Regions from separate parts of the Homo sapiens genome. Here region 1 is linked to region 2. Evidence: promoter capture Hi-C in human tissues and cell types (Jung and others, 2019). All regions are on one chromosome and are shown on one strand. The core of a region is centred on a gene start or on the middle of the fragment in contact, and the rest is flanking DNA. Distances in the headings are between cores, read along the strand shown. Region 1 overlaps DRC5 (dynein regulatory complex subunit 5). Region 2 holds the start of CAPN11 (calpain 11).

Region 1 (4,207 bases), core at 1,402-3,901, 130 kb before region 2:
TGTGGCTCCCCAGGAGAAGAAGGAGAAGGGACTGCCTGCCAGTATGGTGAAGCTGGATGGTGCTGTGAGGAATGACTAAAGAGTCAACTCCAGGGCAATGCACACCAGCAACCTGGGGCTCCCCCTGCCAAGCCTGGTCCTGCTCCCTGGGTGTGGCCCATGGGTGTCCAGGGACATATCTGGGACCAAGGGAAATTATAGAATGTTTTAGGCCAAAACCAAGCAGGAGTTGGGCTGGCCTGTTGCCTCTGACCTTCCTCCTTTGCCTCTGTCGTACTGTCTATGAGCCCCCAACACCACCCTGCCTCCTTGCCCTTCACATCACTCCTGGAAATAGGGAAGGGCCTCAGAAACTTTGCACTCACCCAAAGATACCATCTCAGGTCAGCACTCAAGAAGCAGGTCTCCTGGATGTGGTCTCTGCAGCCTCAGACCCCTGCCCCTCATAGTACCTTCACTCTCCACACACCCTGTATGCTTTACAATGATCAATATTAACCGACCATTATCTCAGGGGGATCTCCACTACAGCCCATGTAGGAAGATATTATTATCCAGTTTCTCAGATAAGGAAACTGAAGCTCAGATAGGTTAAGTAACTTGGCCAAGGTCACAAAGCACATAACTGACAAAGCCAGAAATGCAAAGTCAGCCGGTACCACTAAGCAGCAACCCCCTCCAGCCCTACACTCTGAGATGCCATTAGTCAAAAAGCACTATCTGGTTATTCCACAATTCTGGACACAATCTGTGTGTGAATTTGCATTTGATTTGCATAGGGGATGTCACAATACCTAGATATCTTTCCCGCACTATCTCTCTCCCTGCCACCCGCCTCTCAACCAGGCTTTTCCTCCTTGAGATGCCTGGCAGGCTGGGAAGCACCATCTGGTCCCTCCCTCTGCCAAGGACGCCTTTGCTGGTTCAGAGTGTTCCCTCCCACCGGCCACTACCCAGTGCACTGAGTCGTGAGGGTGCACATCTGATGGGAAACTGCCTGGAGGAGGAACTAGGTGCCAGCAGCCCCATTTGGGCTTTCCTCCAGCAGATCTCAGGGCAGGAGTGCAAGGGTGCAGGAATGGGCAAATGGGGGAGGGTCCCCGGACCAAGACACATCCTCTATCTTCTGTCTTCAGCCCCAGATTTAGCTGTCTTCTCGCCTCCCACGCTTGCCCACTGCTGTCTGGAATGCTGGGAGGCTGGGAGAGCTAGAGGAAGACTGGATGGGGAGATGGAAGGGAAGGGACCTGGAGTTTGAGCTCTCAGTGGGAAGGAGGAGAGAAGGGTGCTGGCACCTTGGGCAGGGCATGGGTCTTGTTCCCCTCTCCTTTCTCTCTCAACCTGCACTCTCTGAAACAGTAGCCACATTGAAACGGTAGGCTCAATGTGCCCATTGAGCCATCAAATTTTGAAGACCTCATATGAAAACATAGTATATAAAATGTCGCATTAATAATTTTATATTGATTATATGTTTAAATAACATTTTAGACATACTGGGCTAAATATAAAATTAATTTCATGGTCAGGCACAGTGGTTCACGCCTGTAATCCCAGCACTTTGGAAGGCTGAGGTGGGTGGATCACCTGAGGTCAGGAGTTCAAGACCAGCCTGGCCAACATGGTGAAACCCCGTCTCTACTAAAAATACAAAAATTAGCTGGGGGTGGTGGCAGGCGCCTGTAATCCCTGTAATCGGGAGGCTGAGACAGGAGAATCACTTGAACCCTGGAGGTGGAGGTTGCAGTGACCCAAAATCGCGCCATTGCACTCCAGCCTGGGCAACAAGAGCAAGACAAAAAAAAAAAAAAAAAAAAGCTAATTTCACCTGTTTTTCTTTTTTTTTTTTTTTTTTTTTTTTTTTTTGAGACAGAGTCTTGCTCTATCACCCAGGCTGGAGGGCAGTAGCACAGTCTTGGCTCACTGCAACCTCTGCATCCCAGGTTTAACTGATTGTCATGCCTCAGCCTTCCGAGTAGCTGGGACTACAGGTGCCTGCCACCCTGCCCAGCTAATCTGTGTATTTTTAGTAGAGACAGGATTTCACCATGTTGGCCAGGCTGGTCTCAAACTCCTGACCTCAAGGGACCCACCCACGTTGGCCTCCCAAAGTGCTGGGATTACAGGCATGAGCCACCACGCCCAGCCTTGTTTCTCTTTACTTTTTAAAATGTGGGCACTAAAGAAGTTAAAATAGCATATGTGGCTTGCATTTTGGCTTGCATTATATTTCTGTTGGCCAGAGCTGTTCTCAACCCCATCCTACGGATCAGGCAGTTGCTGTTCTATGAAATACTTAGTGCAGGGTCCTGTTATGAGCTGAATGGCTCTTTATTATATCTGTGTCTTTTGGCAATATACACCCCTCACCCTCAGAGGGCCGGTCCAATGTAGGGTTCAGAGCATGAATTTGACAGACTGAATTTAAACCCACCCGTGATACTTCTAAGCTGCATGACATTGGGCAAGTCAATTAGCCTCTCTGCTTCAGTTTCCCAGCAGAAAAATGGGAATAATACAAGCACCTATCTGAAAAAGCCTTTTCTGAAAAAGGCTTTTCTGAGGACACATGAATTAATAGGCATAAAGAACTAAAAAGATTGTCTGGCACAGAGCAATTACTGTAATTGCTGTAGAGCTATTATCTAAAATTTGGGGCTGCTCCTTGCTAGTTTCATGTGTCAGATACTATATTATGCCCTTTGGATGCATTATTTTATCCACTCCTCCAAATAATCCTACTGGAACTGCGACCTTCATTTCTCAGAGGCAACATCTGAAATTCAGAGAGGTTCAGTAACTTGCCCAAGGCCACACAGATAACTTGGATCTGCTTCACTCCAGGGACTGATCGTTAAGCACTATTCTGTACCACCTCTCTTAGTAAATGCCCACCAAGACCCACCAAAGTAACACCTCTACCCTCTTCCTTTTGCTCCAGATCCCTACCTGTTTCAAGGACCTGCCAGTCTGAGAAGCTTCTTGTCATAAGGCCATCCAGGGGCCACGCACCCCTACCTTGCCAGCCTCCAGCATGCAGGATACCGTAACGACATCAGCATTGTTGGACCCCAGCCACTCCTCAGTCTCCACCCAGGACAATTCCTCCACTGGAGGACACACTTCAAGCACAAGCCCACAGCTCTCAAAGCCTTCAATCACACCAGTCCCTGCAAAGTCCAGGAACCCACATCCCAGGGCCAATATCCGTCGGATGCGCCGGATCATTGCTGAGGATCCTGAGTGGTCACTGGCCATCGTGCCCCTCCTCACAGAGCTCTGCATTCAGCACATTATCAGGAACTTCCAGAGTGAGTCTGTCCCTGCTTTAGGTGGGCAGGAGAAGGCCAAGAGGGGGGCTAGGTGGGTGGGGACTGTCCGGAGCCAAGACTGCAGAAGCTGGGTCCTGGGGCAGCCCCTGCTCTCCCGTATGGCATCCTCATACCCACTCAACACTTCCCTTCCACCCAGGGCCAAGACAGTTTCTCCTTCTGTTCCCACTGGCAGGTCCCACCAGACTCCCACCCACACTGCACCCTCCATGCCTCTGCCCTCTCCTTGCCTTTTCTACTCTCTCCAGCAAAACCCAGCCTGAGCCATATCTACTTCCTCCTCCAGAAAGCCTTCCCAAGTGAACCGCCCTCTACTCTGATGGAGTCTTCCATGCCATGTAAGGGCTCTTGGTTTGTTCCATATTTTGTGCTCTGTAATATTGATCCTTTCCAAAGATGGACTGCCAGCCTCTCCTACCAGATGGGGCGCTGTCTGAGGACAGGGCCATTATTTCATCTACAGCAACTATCATCACCCAGTCTCACTCATTTTACTTGTTTATTGTCAGCCTCCCCTCACTGGAATGTAAACTCCAAAAGGGAGAGCCCTGTTTGCTTACTCTTCTATCTCCAGCACGTGGGACATAGTAGTCTCTCATAGTGCTACCTCCAGTGTCTGGCACATAGTAGGTGCTCAAAAAATTTCTTGTTTTGAAATGGATGAATCAAATAAGATTGGAAGCCTCTGACCTCAGGGATTGTATCCCCCATCAGACCAGGTGATAATTGAGAGTTGGACCTGAGAGTCTTCCTCAGTCTGGGAACTCCCTGAGAACAGATGCTGAGATGTCCACCTTCAGGCAGGGAACATCCCAAAGCTAAAGGCTGTGTCCCACCCTCTGCTTGAGCCCCCCTGAGAGCAGAGGCTGTCTATC
Region 2 (4,192 bases), core at 785-3,284:
ATACAATAACAGTAATGTGAATGTGGTCTCTCTGTCTCAAAATATCCTGATGTTTTCAGACTGCAGTTGACAGCGGGTAACTGAAACTGCGTGGAAAGCAGGGGCTGCTGCATGTTAAAAGGCATGAATGGACAGGAAGCTTTCTGCTGCAGCTGCACATCCTGTCTCCTCCATCAGACTGAGAACCTACAGATCATTTTGTTGTTGTTGTTGTTGTTGTTTTTTGAGGTTTTTTTTGAGGCGGAGTCTCACTCTGTCGCCCAGGCTGGAGTGCAGTGGAGCGATCTTGGCTCACTGCAAGCTCCACCTTCTGGGTTCACGCTATTCTCCTGCCTCAGCCTCCCGAGTAGCTGGGACTACAGGCGCCCGCCACCACGCCTGGCTTATTTTTTGTATTTTTAGTAGAGACAGGGTTTCACCGCGTTAGCCAAGATGGTCCCGATCTCCTGACTTCGTGATCTGCCCGCCACGGCCTCCCAAAGTGCTGGGATTACAGGCGTGAGCCACTGCGCCCGGCCAGATCGTTTTTAACTAAATCAGTTTTATTTTATTGACAAAAAAAGTATATATCTGTTGTATACGACATGGTGTTTTGAAATATGTATTCACTGTGGAATGGCTCAGTTGAGCTAATTAATATCTGCATTACTGCACATACTTGTTATTTGTTTGTGGTGAGAACACTTAAAATCTACTGTCAGTGATTTTCTTTTTTTTTTGAGATGGAGTCTCGCTGTGTCGCCCAGGCTTGGGGTGCGGTGGCACGATCTCGGCTCACTGCAACCTCCACTTGCTGGGTTCAAGAGATTCTCCTGCCTCAGCCTCCCGAGTAGCTGGGATTACAGGCGCCCGCCACCACGCATGGCTAATTTTTGTATTTTAGTAGAGACACGGTTTCACTATGTTGGCCAGGCTGGTCTCGAACTCCTGACCTCAGATGATCCACCTGCCTTGGCCTCCCAGAGTGCTAGGATTACAGGCGTGAACCACTGTGCCTGGCCTCTCTCAGTGATTTTCTAAATGCAATACATTGTTATTAGGGGACTATAGATTTAAGGACAGTTTGATTTCCGGCACTGGGAAAAAACTAAGATGTTGTGTCAGGGAACTTTAAAAAAAAATAAATACTAATAAGTAATAATAATAAATAAATAAATTATATTTTGAGATGAGGTCTTGCTATGCTGACCAGGCTGGTCTTGAACTCCTGGGCTCAGGGCACTTCTGAAGAACAAGGACTGGGTTTGGGGTCACCAGCTAGGCCTAAACTTCCTAGGGTCAGGTAAACAGGGAGGGCCTGAGAAGCTGGGAGGCTGGGTCTAGGGGCCCATGGTCTCACGGTGCCCCAGGCTGAGGGTGAGGTACAGGGCTGACCTTCTGCTGGCCAAGGCTGGCTGCCCTCTGTGCACCCTAGCCCCACAGGAACAACTCAGTTCTGCCCAGCCCTCCCCTTCCCCCCAGCCCACTCTCCCCCATCTCCTGGAGTCTGGTCCCAGGCTTGCCTCAGGTAGTCCTGCCCCTGCCACCCTGAGGATCTCATCTTCCTGGGCTGAGGGACCTGCTTTTCTAGGCTTAGGAGAGGTTCTCTCTGTTCCCTAAAGTTTTCTTCTCTACGTGGGCTTTTTCACACAAACCCTTTTCCCCAGCAGCCATGACAGTGGGATGGCCGGCCCCTCTCCTCTCCCCAACTCCAACTGTCAGTGGAGAGGAGAAAGAGTTCCTGCCCGGCCTACCACCCAGTCTGACCACCAGTGGCCTATCCTTCCCCAAACAGTCTGAGAACGAGGCCCAGGTCCTGTCCTTAGGGAGCATCCAGTCTGATGGAAGAGTCACTCTCTGTACCCTCAAGGGGCATCCAGTCTGATGGAAGAGTCACTCTCTGTACCCTCAAGGGGCACCCAGTCTGATGCGGGACACAGCTCCTCCCCTGGGGGGAGGCTCTAGCCTGCAGGAGGTACAGGAGTGGGGCAAGGCCCCATGAGTGCCTACCTGGGGAGTACAGCATGCTGGTGGCTAGCTCGGTGCTTGACAGTTGAAGGTTCTGGTGGGAGGGGGAGAAGAGACCCTCCCCCCAGAACTCTCTCATTGCAGTGGGATTCCTAGGTCAGCAGCCGGTTTAACAGCTGCCTTCCCTTTTCTCCTTCTCAGTAACCCAGCCCCTTACCCAGCTGAGGGCTACCCGCTTTAGGGACAGATGACCCAGCACCCCTGCCTTGCACAGCCTCCACCAGCCTGGCTGTCCTCACTGTATCACGGTCATCCCATCAGGGTAGGTCCCAGTCCCTTTTTTTCAGCCCAAGGTTTCCAGGAAGGGGTTGTCCCTGACACACCAACCTGACCTTTACATCCAGAAAGCCTTCTCATTCCCAAAAGCCCCTTTCTCACTGACATGGCATTTTTCCTGTGTTGCTGTCTTCACATGGCACCCTCCTCTGTGTCTCTTCTTCTTATAAGGACACCAGTCATATGGGGCTAGGGTCCCATGCATTTCAGTATGACCTCATCTTAATTGAACGAATTACATCTGCAACCACCCTGTTTCCAAATGAGGTCACATTCTGAAGTACTGGGGGCCAGGACTTCAACATGCCTTTTTGGGGGACACGATTCCACCTGCAACACTCTCCTTGCCTAGCCCCAGTCTGGCAAGGTTAGGCCACTGGTCTGACCACATGTCCTGCCTCTGCACTGGAAAGTGGGAATGCTTTGAGCTAAGAACTCTGCTCCAGAGTGCAGTCTTCTCTGGAGTGTATGATGGCTGAGGACAGGGACTGTCAAGGTCATCCCAGTGCCCCTCAGCCCTGCCTGGTGCTAATCAGGCACAGAACAGGTGTGAGAGCACCCAATGGGATCAGAGAACCTTGTTCCAAGCTCTGAAACAGGAGCTGACCTTGGGCGAGCCCTCCCCCTTTCTCCTTTCTGGGACTCAATCTCCTCATCTACGAGAATATTAATTATGGTTTGTTATTATGTGCCAAACACTGGGCTAAGAACTTCCTACTTATTTAATCCTTAAAACAGCCAGAGGCCATGACATTGCTATTCCCATTTTATAGATGAGGAAAGTGAGGTCTAGAGGTATGATGCAACTTGCCCAGGGTCACACAGCTGTTAAGCGGTCGAGCCAGGATTTAAACTAATAACTTCAGATTTTTTTTTTTTTTTTTTTTTTTGAGATGGAGTCTCGCTCTTTTGCCCAGGCTGGAGTGAAGTGGTGCAATCTCAGCTCACTGCAACCTCTGCCCCCCGGGTTCAAGCGATTCTCCTGCCTCAGCCTCTCAAGTAGCTGGGATTACAGGTGCCCACCACCATGCCCAGCTAATTTTTGTATTTTTAGTAGAGACGGGGTTTCGCCATGTTGGGCAGGCTGGTCTCGAACTCCTGACCTCAGGTGATCACTCGCTTCGGCCTCCCAAAGCGCTAGGATTATAGGCATAAGCCACCGTGCCCGGCCATAACTTTAGCTCTTATCCGTATCTTCTGCTGCCCCCAGCTGTGAAAGGAGGAAGTGGTCTTTGGGGATCCTGTGGTCTCCCCTGCCCACTCCTGATTCCACTATTGCACCTCTTGGATGCCTCTAATGTGATCTGCCTGGACATGAACTCTGTGACGAGGTGCCAGGGGTAGGGTGCAGGCAGGCACGGGTGTTCCTCTCTATTACAGCCTCCCACCCTGGGGGAGGGCTGTCCTCAGGACTCTTGCTCAGTGTGCTGCTTGGGCATTATCTGGAGTTTCACATTTGGAAATGCTGGAACCTGGCTTTGAACTTCAGGCCCTGCAGGAAAGGGAAGGCATGCTGGGCAGATGAGGAATGAGAGGGTCTCGGCTAACCAGAGGTGGGGGCTGAGGTCTGTCCAGGCCATGCTTTGCAGACAAGGGGGCTTGCCAGGCAAATGGCGGTGGTGTGCCTGCCCATCCATACGGAAAACAGGCTTCGGGAGCACCGAGAAGCCTTCACACAACCAAGGTGCTCCTTTCAAAGCCATGCCAATATTTGTCCAACCACCAGCAGGCACTCCCTTGGCCCCAAGACTTTGGGGACTCTACCTGGGAGCTCATGTTTCACAACTGCAGATCTGACATACATATGCAGGCTGAGGCCAGGACCAAGGCCTCAACTTTCACCTCCACTGTCACTGGCCCATCCTCCACCCACAGCCCGCCCATAAACACTGACCCTCCAAGCTGTGTT

What was found. Contacts are between HindIII fragments. The study calls those that stand out against the background at their distance.
Region 1: a contact is called between a fragment that was not itself captured here and the fragment with the promoter of CAPN11 in region 2, in 1 of the 25 tissues and cell types used here (spleen).

The regions. Positions count from the first base shown.
Region 1 is chr6:44,286,653-44,290,859 of GRCh38, reverse strand. DRC5 (dynein regulatory complex subunit 5) reads left to right here. Exons shown (of 5, transcript NM_182539.4): 2 at 2,942-3,311. The coding sequence starts at 3,035. Among named protein-coding and RNA genes, the nearest start is that of DRC5, 8.9 kb to the left of the region's middle. The HindIII fragment of the contact is 7,555 bases long and covers 1-4,207 here.
Region 2 is chr6:44,156,662-44,160,853 of GRCh38, reverse strand. CAPN11 (calpain 11) reads right to left here and starts at 2,034. Exons shown (of 23, transcript NM_007058.4): 1 at 1,990-2,034. The coding sequence starts at 2,005. LOC107986599 (a long non-coding RNA gene) reads left to right here and starts at 2,251. Exons shown (of 3, transcript XR_002956350.2): 1 at 2,251-2,269. RefSeq lists an enhancer at 688-857. The HindIII fragment of the contact is 19,752 bases long and covers 1-4,192 here.